Linked DNA regions of Homo sapiens: region 1 is linked to region 2. Evidence: promoter capture Hi-C in 16 types of primary human blood cells and fetal thymus (Javierre and others, 2016). All regions are on one chromosome and are shown on one strand. Each heading gives the region's core, a stretch centred on a gene start or on the middle of the fragment in contact. The rest is flanking DNA. Distances are from core to core; before and after follow the strand shown.

The links. Contacts are between HindIII fragments. The CHiCAGO score rates a contact against its expected background, and 5 or more counts as called.
Region 1: a contact is called between the fragment with the promoter of MAGEL2 here and the fragment with the promoter of NDN in region 2, in 1 of 17 cell types (neutrophils). The highest score is 5.0, in neutrophils.

The regions. Positions count from the first base shown.
Region 1 is chr15:23,642,515-23,649,351 of GRCh38, forward strand. It overlaps MAGEL2 (MAGE family member L2), which reads right to left and starts at 5,353. Exons shown (of 1, transcript NM_019066.5): 1 at 1,035-5,353. The coding sequence starts at 5,228. The coding sequence ends at 1,479. RefSeq lists an enhancer at 3,796-4,640. The HindIII fragment of the contact is 5,160 bases long and covers 1,334-6,493 here.
Region 2 is chr15:23,685,483-23,691,730 of GRCh38, forward strand. It overlaps NDN (necdin, MAGE family member), which reads right to left and starts at 1,823. Exons shown (of 1, transcript NM_002487.3): 1 at 1-1,823. The coding sequence starts at 1,735. The coding sequence ends at 770. The HindIII fragment of the contact is 2,633 bases long and covers 554-3,186 here.

The DNA.
Region 1 (6,837 bases), core at 4,103-6,602, 39 kb before region 2:
GTATATACATGGTTGTGAAGTTAAGCACTGTGGGAGGGGCTGTTGCTGCGGCAGCTGCGGTGGCACCTCTAATCTGCCGCTAGGTGGCAGGAGAATTCCACCATCGCCACTAACCGCATCTGGGACTTTGGCTTCACCCTAGAAGCGGGATATGGGATTGGATTTCTTCCTTCTGATAAGACAGTATGCGGTGGCAAGTAGGGCTGATGGTCCCCTGTCCACAGGAAGAGAGTATGACCACAAGAACGTCCTTTTGTGTACACCAGCCTGGTGTGTGCTTGAATATCCTTCCTCAAAACACTCAGGCCAGTTCATTCCCTTGTCCCTTTCCTGCCTAGACCAGGTTCATAGCCAAGGGCTGACCGCGGTTGTTCAGCAACTTCAGGCGTTGCCGGCTGCCTTCCCCTACAAGTTAGAATGACCCTTCCCCCCAGGACCTTCCCCTAGAACTCTATGTTGATAGGAATGCACCCTGCCACGCCCTCCCCTAACCCAGCCACTACTGCTGGCAATCTGCAGGGTTTCTAATTAAATGAAGACTGTTTTTTCCTTTTCCCTGTTATAAGCCTGGATATCCTGCAGGGAGCACGTTTCCATCCCGGTAGCAGTGTGTTGATGAAACCCAAATTTGAACTGCTGGACACCCCGCCACGGGCCACATGATTGACAAATACCCTTTTGGCCAAATTCTCCATGAAGCGGGACCACCTGGTTATTTGTAGTCCTGCAGGCAGATGGCCCTTCTTCTCCACATACCCTTAAGGACATTTCTGCTTCTAATAACAACGTTACCAGCTGGGCACTAACGTGTGTGCTTTAATTAATCTCCTGGAGAAATCTTATGTATAACCACCCACTGAAATCACTGCATCCTTATAAAGATGAATGGAGTACTCTCCTTGGAAAACAATTCCATCACCGTGGTTTTTACTATAACTGAGAGTAGTCTTGCTATTCATGTCTATTCAGAGAATACGGCAAAACTTGGCTTCCACCATCTAGTGTAAAAATTAGAATAAAGACAAACACTTCTGTTATGCTGAAAGTATATTTATATATATAGATATAGATATTTACTTCTCTGTAGACAGTTTTTACTGATGAGTCATTTGAACGTTCAAAGAACAACCGATTACAATGCTACATGAACTATACCAGAAATGAGATGGATAGCTTCTCAATTCATTTCACAAAGCCAGCACAAAGCTGATACCAAAACATAACAATTAAAACACAAAACAGAGAACCACAGATCTCACTTAAAAACACAGATGCCAAAATACAGAACAGAACAGTAGCCGATTGAAATCAACACCACATAAAAAATGTACAAAGCTTTGGCAGATACGAAACCAAGTTGAAAATCCAAACGTACACTCGTGGAACTGGAACACAAACACCAGGAACAAAAATGTCCCCCCACCCTGTCAGTGGCCTCTGGCCAGGGAAACACAGGAGCGAGATCTCTGCTACACCTATTAGCGGGGAGGGGGCCTGCTGGTGGGGCCGTGGGCACTGTCACCGGTGTCAGGTTCATCCTCATCTGTGTCTTCCCACTCACACTCTGCGAGCGCTTCAAGGTAATGGAATGGCCAGCTCTGTGGATCTTTCTTATGGAGCTTGGCCAAAAACCTCAGGACAAGCATCTTGCTGGTTTCCAGGAATGCTCGAGGGCCCCAGAGGAACTCATACTCTGCGGGCTCAGTGTAAGGGATTCGCCTGTACTCTAGGTACTTCTGCCTGACAAACACTTCGGTGATGAGCTTCTTAGTATTTCCAAAGAGACCGTTTGTCTCCCGGACATCCAACCCTAACTTGAACAGAAAATTAAAGATCAGATCCTCCCTGACACAGTTGCCTTTCATAAAGATGAGGCTCAAGACCACCATCAGAAGGCCAAACTTGGGCCTGTCTAAATAGGATGCCACCAAATTCCCTGTATGGTAGCCCAGCTTGTTGATGATAATATAGGCGTGGTTTTTGGTATCAATTTCTTTCAATTGATAACCAAAGGCACACTCCAGCTTATTGTTGGCACGGTTGATGATATCTAAGCACTCATCTTTATACTCTCGGAGGATGACTTTCACCATCTCCGAGCGCTGGACAGGCACCTTGGCTTGGTCCTTGACTAAGAGGAACTGCACCAACGCATTTGCCCTCTCATCCAAGGGAGACAAGGGCTGTGCCTCCACCTTGGAATTATCCTGGGTGGCACTGGATCCCGGAGAGACACTTGCGACCTCAGACACAACTACGGGCAGAGAGCTCCCTGGGCTTTCAGAGAGACCCAGGGCCCTGGAGGTGCTCGGGCCCTCCCAGGCACTCAGGGCCCAGGATGCGCTGGGCCCTTCCCAGCCACTCAGGATCCTGGAGGTGCTAGGGCCCTCCCAACCACTCAGGCCACGGGGGGTGTTTGGGTGCTCCCAGTCACCCGAGACCTGGATAGGGCTTTGGACCTCCCAGTCACTCAGATTTAGATTCTCCCAGGGCCTTGGGCCCTGCCAGTCATGAAAGGCTAGCGTGTGGCCACGGCTGTCCTCTTGGGCTTCCAGATGCTTCTTCTTCCGGGTGGCCTTGCCGGAGCGGCGTGGCGGCTCGACGGAGGTCTTGGAGGCCTCTTGAGTGGTGGCAGTTGCCTGGGGGGCAGCTGCTGTAGCCATCAGGAAGGTGGGCACTGCCTGCGATGCCTTTGAGGCATTCATATTGGGCTGTGGGACCCATGGAACTGCAGGCAGGGCCTCTACACAGGCAAAGGGATCCTGCAGAGCATATGGCAGTGACTTTGGGGTCTCTGAGGCAGCAGAGGGGCCTTTAAAGGCATTCAGAGAGGCAGGCTGAAACTGGGAGGTAGCTGGGAAGACACTTGAGGAGGGAGCAAAGGTCTCCGGTGTGGCAGGCAGGTTTTTCCAGGCAGCTGGCAGGTGTGCTCGCGCAGCTGACACTGCCTTGGGAGCACAGAAGGTGGCAGCAAAGATCATGCGGTCTTTTGAAGGGGCCCTGCGCTCCTTCGAGGAGGTCCTGCGCTCTTTAGAGGAGCCCCTGCGGTCTATAGAAGAGGCCCTGCATTCTCCTGATGGAGTCATCAATGATTTAGCGGAGCCCAGGGGAAAATTTGCCGCTGCTACCGGGGGTCCGGGCTGGGCCTGCAAGACTGCAGGCGGTGCCTGCCAGGAAGGCTGGAGCGGCAGTGTGGGCACCTCCGCTTGCGGACCCGATGCCTGGGCCTGCTGGGGGGGTAGCTGGATTTGCACGGCTTTTTGGGAGGGCGGGGCTCCCTGAAAGGGCTGCTCCAGCTGGACCAAGGGGGGAGCCTGCCTCTGGGCCTCCTGGGCAGGCAGGGGCTGCCAGATGTGAGTGGGGGCCTTCTGGGCCTGCCAGGCCAGCGCCTGTGTCTGCTGCACCTCCTGGAATTCCATTGACGTTGGAATCTCGTGTGGCACCGGGGGCTGACCTTTGGGGGCCTGCCAGATGATGGAAGGGCAGTGCACAGCCTGCGGGGCAGACAGTGGGGCAGACAGCGGGGCCGGCAGCACAGGCTGGGGCACCTGCGGGCCAGCGGGCGGCGCCGCGGGTACCTGCGTAGCAGGTGGGGCCGTAGGCACCTGCGGCGCCGCCTGCACCTGCGGGGCCGGCAGCCTAGCCTGCGGGGCCTGCCGCAGTGGAGGTGGGGGTGGCAGGGCCTGCCAGAGCGGTGGCTGGGTGGCCAGGACCTGTGGGGCAGGTCGGATGGGCGGCGGCGCCTGGCGGATCAGCGGCGGGGCCTGGCGGATCACAGGTGGAGCCTGGCGGATCACAGGTGGGGCCTGGCGGATCACAGGTGGGGCCTGGCGGATCACAGCGGGGGCCTGGCGGATCACGGGTGGGGCCTGGCGGATCACGGGTGGGGCCTGGCGGATCACCGGTGGGGCCTGGCGGATCAGCGGTGGGGCCTGTCGCACCGGTGGTGGGCCAGGGCGGATGGGTGGTGGGCCAGGGCGGATGGGCGGGGGCCCCTGGCGCATGGGCGGCGGCACCTGCCAGGTAACGGCTGGTGCCTGCCAGGTGACCTGCGTGGTCTGCCAAGTCAGGGGAGTGGCCTGCCAGCCTTGCTGCGTGGCCTGCCATCCTGGCGAGGTCGCCTGCCAGCCCGGGGGTGTGGCTAGCTGCGCTGGGGGTGCCTGCGGGCCCTGGGGAACCTGCGGAGGAGCCCTTATAACTTGAGACTGGATTTGCAGGATCAGAGGCTGAGCCTGCGGGGCCCAAGAAGCCATCGGCTGTGCAGGTGGGGCCATCGGCTGTGCAGGTGGGGCCGCCGGCTGTGCCATCGGTGCTCCTGAAGCTGGAGGCTGGGTCATCGGAGCTCTCGCACCTGGAGGATGAATCATCAGGACTCCTGGACCTGGAGGCTTGGCCATCGGTGCTCCTGAAGGCTGAGGCTGGGTCATCATGGCTGCTGGAGGCGGCTGGACCATCGGTGCTCCCGGAGCAGCAGGCTGGACCATCAGGACTCCCGGAGTCAGAGGCTGGGCCATCAGGACTCCCGGAGCTGGAGGCTGGGCCATCGGTGTACCCGGAGGGGGAGGATGAGCCATCGGTGTCCCCGGAGGTGGAGGATGAGCCATCGGTGTCCCCGGAGGGGGAGGATGAGCCATCGGTGTCCCCGGAGGGGGAGGATGAGCCATCGGGGTCCCCGGAGGAGGAGGATGCACCATCGGGGTCCCCGGAGGAGGAGGATGGGCCATCGGGGTCCCCGGAGGAGGAGGATGGGCCATTGGGGTCCCCGGAGGGGGAGGGTGGGACATTGGGGTCCCCGGAGGAGGAGGATGGGCCATGGGAGCTCCGGGAGCTGAAGGATGCACCATCAGGACTCCCGGGGTCGGAGGCTGGGCCATCGGGGCTCCCGGAGGTGGAGGATGCACCATCAGGACCCCGGGAGTCGGAGGCTTACCCATCGGGCCCCCCAGCGGGGGAGCCGGGACTATCGGGCCCCCTAGGGCAGGAGGCTGGGTCATCGGAACCACCGGGGCGGGCAGCTGGCCCTGTGGGGCCTCCCAGGCAGGCTGAGGTGCCTGCCAAGCGGCCAATGAAGCCTGCAAGTCAATTGGAGGTGGATCCCAAGGGACTGGCGGAGCCCGGGAGGAAGCGGGCGGGGCCCGCATCAGAACCGTAGGGCGGCTATAGACAGGCGGCTTCGGGGCCTCCGCCGGAGGACTCGAGTCACCCAGATTCTTACTTAGCTGCGACATGTCCCTTTGCTGACAGCTGGTGGGTCTTTTCCTCGGACAGCTGCTGGGCCTTTTCCTCCAGAGAGAAGAGAATGCCTACGTGGCTGTTCAGAGGCTCCCTCCCTGCTGAATGCTGAATAGGAAGTGAGTGCTGCTCGCTCCGCAGCTTTCCGCAGTAAGGAGGAGGGGGGAAGGGGGCTCAATCCCGCCCCTTCCCCGCCCCCGACCACCACAAGTGGATATTGCATAGGGGCGTCTACCGGAGTCCTGGCTGACACAGGATCCCTTCTCACTCTGTCCAGTCCCCAAATGCAGACCAGTCAGACTCCACATGGATGACTTTTCACAGGGGAGTGACAGGAACCCATCCATGTTTTAGAAAAATCACTGTACTGCAGTGTGGAGTGGGAGCAGACCACTGGAAACATGGAAGGTATCCAAGACGGCGGGGGGAGATGGTGTGGTCTGGGCTAAGATGTGAGGCGGAGAATGAAAAAAGCGCATTTACATAAGAGAGTTCCAGGAGTTATAGCAGACAGATACCTGTATTATAATTGAATAAAGGAGTCAAAGACATGGAAAAGGCACACAAGTCCCTGCCTGGAGAAAGTGGGAAGTTGCAGGGACTGTTACTCTCTTAGGGTCCCAGGAGAGGCACACGGGAAGAGAGGCTGATGAGTATTGGCAGACACAGGGCATTTGCGGTGCTGTGGGACTGCCAAGGAGAGATACCCTGTAGGCACTCCTGTATGATGTCTTGGGAGTCCTGCTTGGCTATTCCTCATGAAAATAGAGTTGTGGGAGGGAATGTGGTTGCACTGGGTCTTGAAGAACACAGGCATGTTAGAGACACATGGAGAAAAGGGACAGCAGCGAGTAGAGAGAGAGGAAAAGAAGTCACGGAACTGAGACATGCCACACATCAGTGGAAGACAGCATTTTTAGTATGGGAAAACTGCCTGTGGAATGGCTCGGATGCAGGAACAGAGTAGGTTTCTCAGTATTTTTCATCTGCAGAATGGGAAAGAAATTTAAAAAATGAAAACCAAATAACGCACCTGAAGATAACAAAATGGGTATATAAATAGATCAAAAATTGATATATTTGGATATATAGGAAAAACAGGCAAAGAATAAAAAAATTTCTGGGGAAACTTCTCGTGACAAAAATCAGTTTAAATATGAGACAAATCAAGTATTAACAGATAAAGCAGATGACAATAGTATTATTGGGCAATGCTATACAACTTTATGGTGAGAGGAAGTGATAATCTCAGTAATTGAAAAGCTTTCTGGAAATATACAAAGCACTAAATATCAAGGATGTTTCGTTTAAATAGGCTGTTGGCAGCCTACGGCAGGAGTCCAGAGTGACAAAACGTGCCACCAGGGGGCAGATGAGGACGATGAAGGGTACACCCCACTCCTTCCCAGGTACCCTTAGCCAGGGGTCCTCAAATTTGGTAATTTATGGACCCAAGAGAAGGTATGTACACACTCCCAATGTTATTATTGCCTTAAACAATAATAGAAGAATTTGGGGGTAAAGTTTCAGTGATTTTCTGGACACTTAAGGGATGTTGTTATTCCCAGGAAACTCTTTTCAAAACAGTCAGATTTTTAAGGGTGC
Region 2 (6,248 bases), core at 573-3,072:
GTTTTTGAAATAAACATGAGTTACATTTAAAGACAATAGAACTATAAACTTCACAAATTTAGGAGTAATCATGAGTAGCGATTTTTCCCACCCTATTAGGGGAAATAGTTGTATCTGTATACACTGTAAAATAGAGAATTGTCTCATTCCCAACCATACTGCTTTGTTAAAATGATAAAGTACACTTTTCCAAAAATGATTGTATCACAAGAATCTTTAATGTTTACTTTAAAGTTGACTCACGGTGGGGTTGTATATGTGTTTAGTAAAGTGTGCCAAGTGCTCACACTGAGACCAGTCCAGTTCAAATTAGTGTACTCCACGAGGGTGTTTTCTGTGCCCAGCAAGGTCATGAAGGGCCTTGACTTTTCTTGGTTAGGCCGGCTTTGCTGGTGACTTCTTCCAAACTCTGCAGGAGCAGTCTACCCCAACACACATCATCAGTCCCATATAAAAGAATAAGATGGAAACTTTCTCAATGTATTTCATCAGTTTAGCACATCTCTGGTACAAAAATCCAAGAAAGGTAGCACAAAAGCGAAAGCACCAACCAAGCTTACATATAAACAAACATGCATACATCCTAAATACTACACAATAGTACCCAAATGAATACAACATTGCATTAAAGGTATAAAAGCACTGTACTGAAAACTTAAAAGTTACACGTGAATACTGCACTGTAAATCCTGAATACTATAATGACCCACCCCCACCCTTCCACAGCCCTGGTGAGGGTCAGAAACCATTCATCTGCCTCCAGACTTTGCTAGTCCTCAGAGACACTGCTGCGAGGGTAGTGGGCAGTGGGATTAGCCTCCCGCAGAGCTCTGGCCTCCTCCAGAGCTTCTCTGTATCGGGAGGGCCAGGCCTGGGGGTCTTTCTTAAAGACCCTGGCCAGGAACTCCATGATTTGCATCTTGGTGATTTCGCGGCTGGCCCGGGAGCCCCAAAAGAACTCGTATTCGGGCGGCTCCACGTATGGGACGCGCTGGTACTTCAGGTAATTCATTTGGACGAACTCCTCAGTGATGAGCTTCCGCACGTCCCCGAAGGTGGAGTGCTTCTTCCAGGGCCGCAGCCCCAGGATGCGCAGCACGTTCCAGACGGCGCTCTCTCTGGCGCCGCGGCCCTTCACGTAGATGAGGCTCAGGATCATGAGCAGGAGGCCTGTCATGGGCATGCGGTTGCTCAGCGCCACCCTGTCCAGCTCCTCGGGCTCCAGCGCTTTGACCAGCGCAAACTCCATGGTGTGCAGGCTGGTTAGCCTCAGGTGCAGCCCGAACACCCGGGCGAGGATGAGGCTGGTGCGCCGGAGGATGCTCCTGCACCACTTCTTGTAGCTGCCGATGACATCTTTCACCATGTCTGGAAACCAGATGATCATCTTCTTCTGGTCCTTGACCAGCACGTACCACATGAGCTCGTGCGCCTTCTGCACCAGCTGCGCCGGGGCTGGCGGTGCCGGGCCCGGCTGGGCCGCGCTCGGGGCCTGGTGGGCGCGGCCCTCCTCCGCAGCCTGCTGCAGGGCCTTCGGGTCGCCCTCGTCGTTCGGGGCCTGGGGAGGCGGCGCGGCCTGCGGAGCGGCCGTCGGGCCTAGAGGAGGGCTCTGCGGCTCTGCCAGGGTCGCGGACGGAGGAACCCCCTCCGAAACCCCAGGGCTGCTGTGCACCTCGGAGTTGGGGGCCTCGGCTGCAAAGTTAGGGTCGCTCAGATCCTTACTTTGTTCTGACATGTCTGCGCCGTCTGGCAAGGGCAGGGCCTCTGCGTCCAGGAGCTCTTCGAGCCTGCGCTCCCTCCGCGGATTCCTGGAGAGGAAGTGCGCGTTGCTGCGCGCGGCGCCTTCCGCAGCGACGGGCAGGGCGGGGCGGCGGCGGGACGCGGCACTGCGCCTGCGCGACCGCGGCCTTGGCCAGCGGCTGGGGGCGGGCGGGGCAGCGCGGGGCCCCGACGGGGAGGGTCCATGGCGAGGCTTCACCTGCTGGGAGAGCGATCCCGGGGTTTCCTGTTTGGGCTGAGAAGATCTAGGGCAGGAGAGAAGTGAGATGGATGCGTACTGGAGAAGGGGCCAGTTTAAGGGAAAGATACCTTAAGTTTTTGGGATGTTGGGGTCAAGTTTCTTGGGAAACGCTTACCTGGGTATATCCAGAATTAAGTTAAATATGAGAGTCCCAGAGAAAGGTCTGGGCGGCTTTGTAAACATGAGCTTTATGCGAACCAGTGAGAGGAACAGTCGGGCTTGTCCAAGAAAATGTGTAAACTGTAAAGTGGATGTCTGAGGTTGGAATCCTGAGAAATTCCAATAAAAAATGATCGACTCCCTACCAAATCAGATAGGCTATAAGAAAAGGGGAAATGCAGTGTGTCGTTAACGTAATTTCCTATCAACCCATGTGAACTATGAACTTTTTAAGTAGGCAGTGGACTTAGAGCATCATTAATGCTTTAACGGGCATAAATTTGGGTTTTACACTTCCTTTGGGTAACTTTGATTCCATTTTATTTTTTTCCATACTTAGTCCATAGCAGAAGGATTGCTATATCTTTTAGCACAAACTTGTATGATAATGTCTTTTCCCTCTGCCCAGCACCCTCATTCTTCAATTCACCTTCTCTCAGGACCCTCTCTGAAGCTACTGAGTCCTCCACGTTGGAAGCCACACCCAAGTCTTTCCTGAGATTTAAAAAAAAAATAGGTCCCATGGGTAATATCTGGTAGTGTCTCTGAGATGACCAAAGGGTAGCAGGGGAAACATAGGTAACCCTGTTTTCCAGGTATGGAAAACAGATTCCCAGTGGGCAAAGACAAAACTGTCACTCCTACAGGCTCTCCATGAAAAAAAGGGTCATTGCCTGAGCATCTGAAACCAGGGACCTTAATGCTGCTTCAGCATCCTTGGTCTGGGCTGATGTGGTCCTTCAGCTCTTCCCGGGTTTCTTCTCATCAGCAGCTTCTTAAATATGCTGTCTTGAATCTAGTTATTGCCACTCGAAGCCAAAAGCATATTTAAAAATTGTCTTGACATGTCTAGAGTCCTCACTGTGAGTATGTATCTTTTCCCACTTTATTTTTCCTCAAGCAGGTTGATGTTGAAAGGTTTTCTGTGCTTTCTCTCTTTGGGTTTGCACGCACATAACACTTTTGGCAGAGCCATTACCACACCAGTCCCTCCAACAGGACTCTTAAGCTTCCCACTTCACCAGGGTAATTCCTAGATATCAGTCTTAGTTGGAATTATTTCAACACTTTTCTCCTCCTCCTCACCCTCCTCCACCTCCTCCTTCTCCTCTCCATCTACTTCTCCTTTTTCTCCTTCTTCTATTTATAGATATCTACCATTTTCTTGGGAACATCTTACAGAAATATGCTAATTATATTCATTGTTTTTAAGAATGTCTCTTGAACAGACTTATTACCCCCATGCTTCATAAATATAATCCTCATTTATTGCATTTAAATCTCCATCAATATTATTCTTTATTTTGTTTGGGTATGTATTATTTTCTAACTATTTAAATAAAATATTTAGGCCAGGTGCGGTGGCTCACGCCTGTAATCCCAGCACTTTGGGAAGGTGAGGCGGGCAGATCACCTGAGGTCAGGAGGTCGAGACCAGCCTGGCCAACGTGGCAAAACCCCGTCTCTACTAAAAATACAAAAATTAGCCGGGTGTGGTGGTGGGCACCCTTAATCCCAACTGCTTGGCAGGCTGAGGCAGGAGACTCGCTTGAACCTGGGAGGTGGAGTTTGCAGTCAGCTGAGAGCATGCCACTGCACTCCAGCCTGGGCAACAGAGCGAGACTGTCTCAAACATTAAATAAATAAAGAAATAAAATATTTAGTTCATTTGATATATTTTTTAATAAGAAAAGTGTTTGAACCTACTATTTAAATCTCAACTTGGCTTTGGCCATAGGCTATGGTTTTTAACATTGTGATCTCATTAAAACTGCATTCTCACATGTCACCCTCCGAGATGTAATGGATTCTTGAAATTAAAGTGCAGGCTTGGGGCATGACAACAATAAAAGGTGGCTCTGCTGAAGTGAGTATCAGCGCTCTGGCCAGAGAGCTGCTTGGACTTCAGTTGCTGCCTGGGCAGGACTGGATAACTTCTACCTGGACTTCATTCTAGTGAAGTTGCCAGCATCAAGCAGACTGTGCAGAAGGCCTCTCCTGCAGCACACAACACACTACACTTCTGACAGAAGGGTTGTCCAATGCTGTACCAGGGCCTGTCGATTAAGACCACCCTGAGAGATTACACTTGGAAGGCTTAAAGCCTTAGGTCTGATGCACAAGTCTGAAATGAAGCACAGGCTAGACCTGGAGCCCAACTGTACACCTGCTAAAATGATATCATCTTCTTCCTGAAGAATGAAGAGGTTCAATTCCCCCCCAAAATCAAATTACTGGGAGTAGAAGTTTGGGTAGGTGGGGTAGTGGGACAAAATAAAGCCTGGGATAGCCTGTTAGTGGGGAAAGCACACATGCGCAGGTGCAATGGGATAGACGGGTCAGTAGCTTGATGGCTGCCTAATAAGGTGTGTGCCCACGAACCAGAGATTCCGACCTTCAGAGTAATAACAAAAAGGACCAAAGACACTGTGAGAAATGAGACGAAGCTAGTACTTGGAAGGCATCCACAACTACCTTGACCCAAGGCTCAAGATCTGGGATGGAGCTCTAATGCTGTCCTGAGAGTCATGGGGATAATAAATCTTGCTGGGTGTCTCCAGGGGGGCCCCTATTTGAGTTGGGCAATAAGTCCTCTCAGGGCCAGCAGCTTAGTAGAAAAGTGTGAAGACTACAAAAATATATCTCAACTACTCATTAAATCAAAATTCTGTAAATAGAAGTTCTGTGAATAGACACAGAAAATATACGGAGAAGCTGTAACTTAAAATATTCTGGAGCAGACAGTTTTGCTGGTGGGTTACTTCGAACTCTGTAATACGGAACAGATTACACAGCTGTGGAATAGGCTGTTCTTGGCAGACCCAGGAACAGGAGGAGAGGCCAGTCCCAGCCTTGGTTTCCATAGTGAACGGAGGAAGGGGGGTCACCCCAGAGCCTCTAGTGGGAAGTGCGCATGCTCGCAGTGCAGGGGCCCAGAGGCCCTGGATGAAATGTGAATCCTCTGGCTCTTCCCTGTCCACATAGGCAGCAACCTCCACCTTGGAGCCCCTAAATGGGCCCCAAATGCCTTTCAGGCCAAGGATCTTAAACGGAATTCACTTTAATGTGTTCAGCAAATATTGAGCAATATCCGTCATGTGCCTGAAATATTTGCATTTCAGAAAAGTCTCAGTCTGAGGGAAAAACCCATGGCAGCTGGGCCCCTTTTTTTGTTAGAAAACATTAAGAAGTTAGGACAGGCAGTGCTGCTTTCCAAAGTTGGGAGGGTGTAGGGAGGGACTGGACCCTGGCCCCTCATCCCCAGCCTCCCTAGGGGGCCACTGCTCATGCTCATCCATTCAAGGTCCATCGCATGCACTGAAATGGGAGAATTTTCTGTTCTGCACAGCCCCAAGGAGCAGCTCTCTCAGATAGTTAAGGAGTCTAGGGTGTCTTCTGAAAAGTCACCTGCATACAGAGTAAGATTAGAGTTTGGGGCAGGTGGACAAGCAGAGGCAGGGAGTCTCATTAGGGGTCCCTTCCCAGGACTCCATGTGAAAATGGGTGATGGCTTGCATTTCATCTTCATTCGCCAACTGTTTACTAACATTACATTTCAGGCCTTGTGCCTGGGGATACAATGAGAAGTGACATGGTCTCTGTAATCTGTACTGAGGGAAAGTGGTGGAGAAAAAGAGCGTTAAAAGAGAAAACAAATGCCTGATCAAATCATATGTTATGATGCATATTGTGAAGCAATATTATCACCAAGAGTGGGACAGAGGGAGCCGAGGTTCAATAGAAATGCCAGGTTCAAAAGATATAAACAGCAATGGAAGGGGAGGGGAGACTGTGAATAACAGGCACATCCAGGATTCTGTCTCAGGCAGCCAATTGAGCAGGACAGTGCAGCTATGAGATGCAGGTGCCATTTCCTGAAACCATGCAGAGAGAAGGACCAGAAGATTGTGGGAAGACCGAACGGTCTTACCCAGCGGATATCTGGATTGACACAACTCAGCAAAAACGCCTGCGCTGGAAAGTTAAGTTTGGAAGGTAAAGAAGATAAATCACATCACCCTGAGAGTGTCTGGAGCAGGGCTCTTTAATGATCTGAGAATGGCGTAAT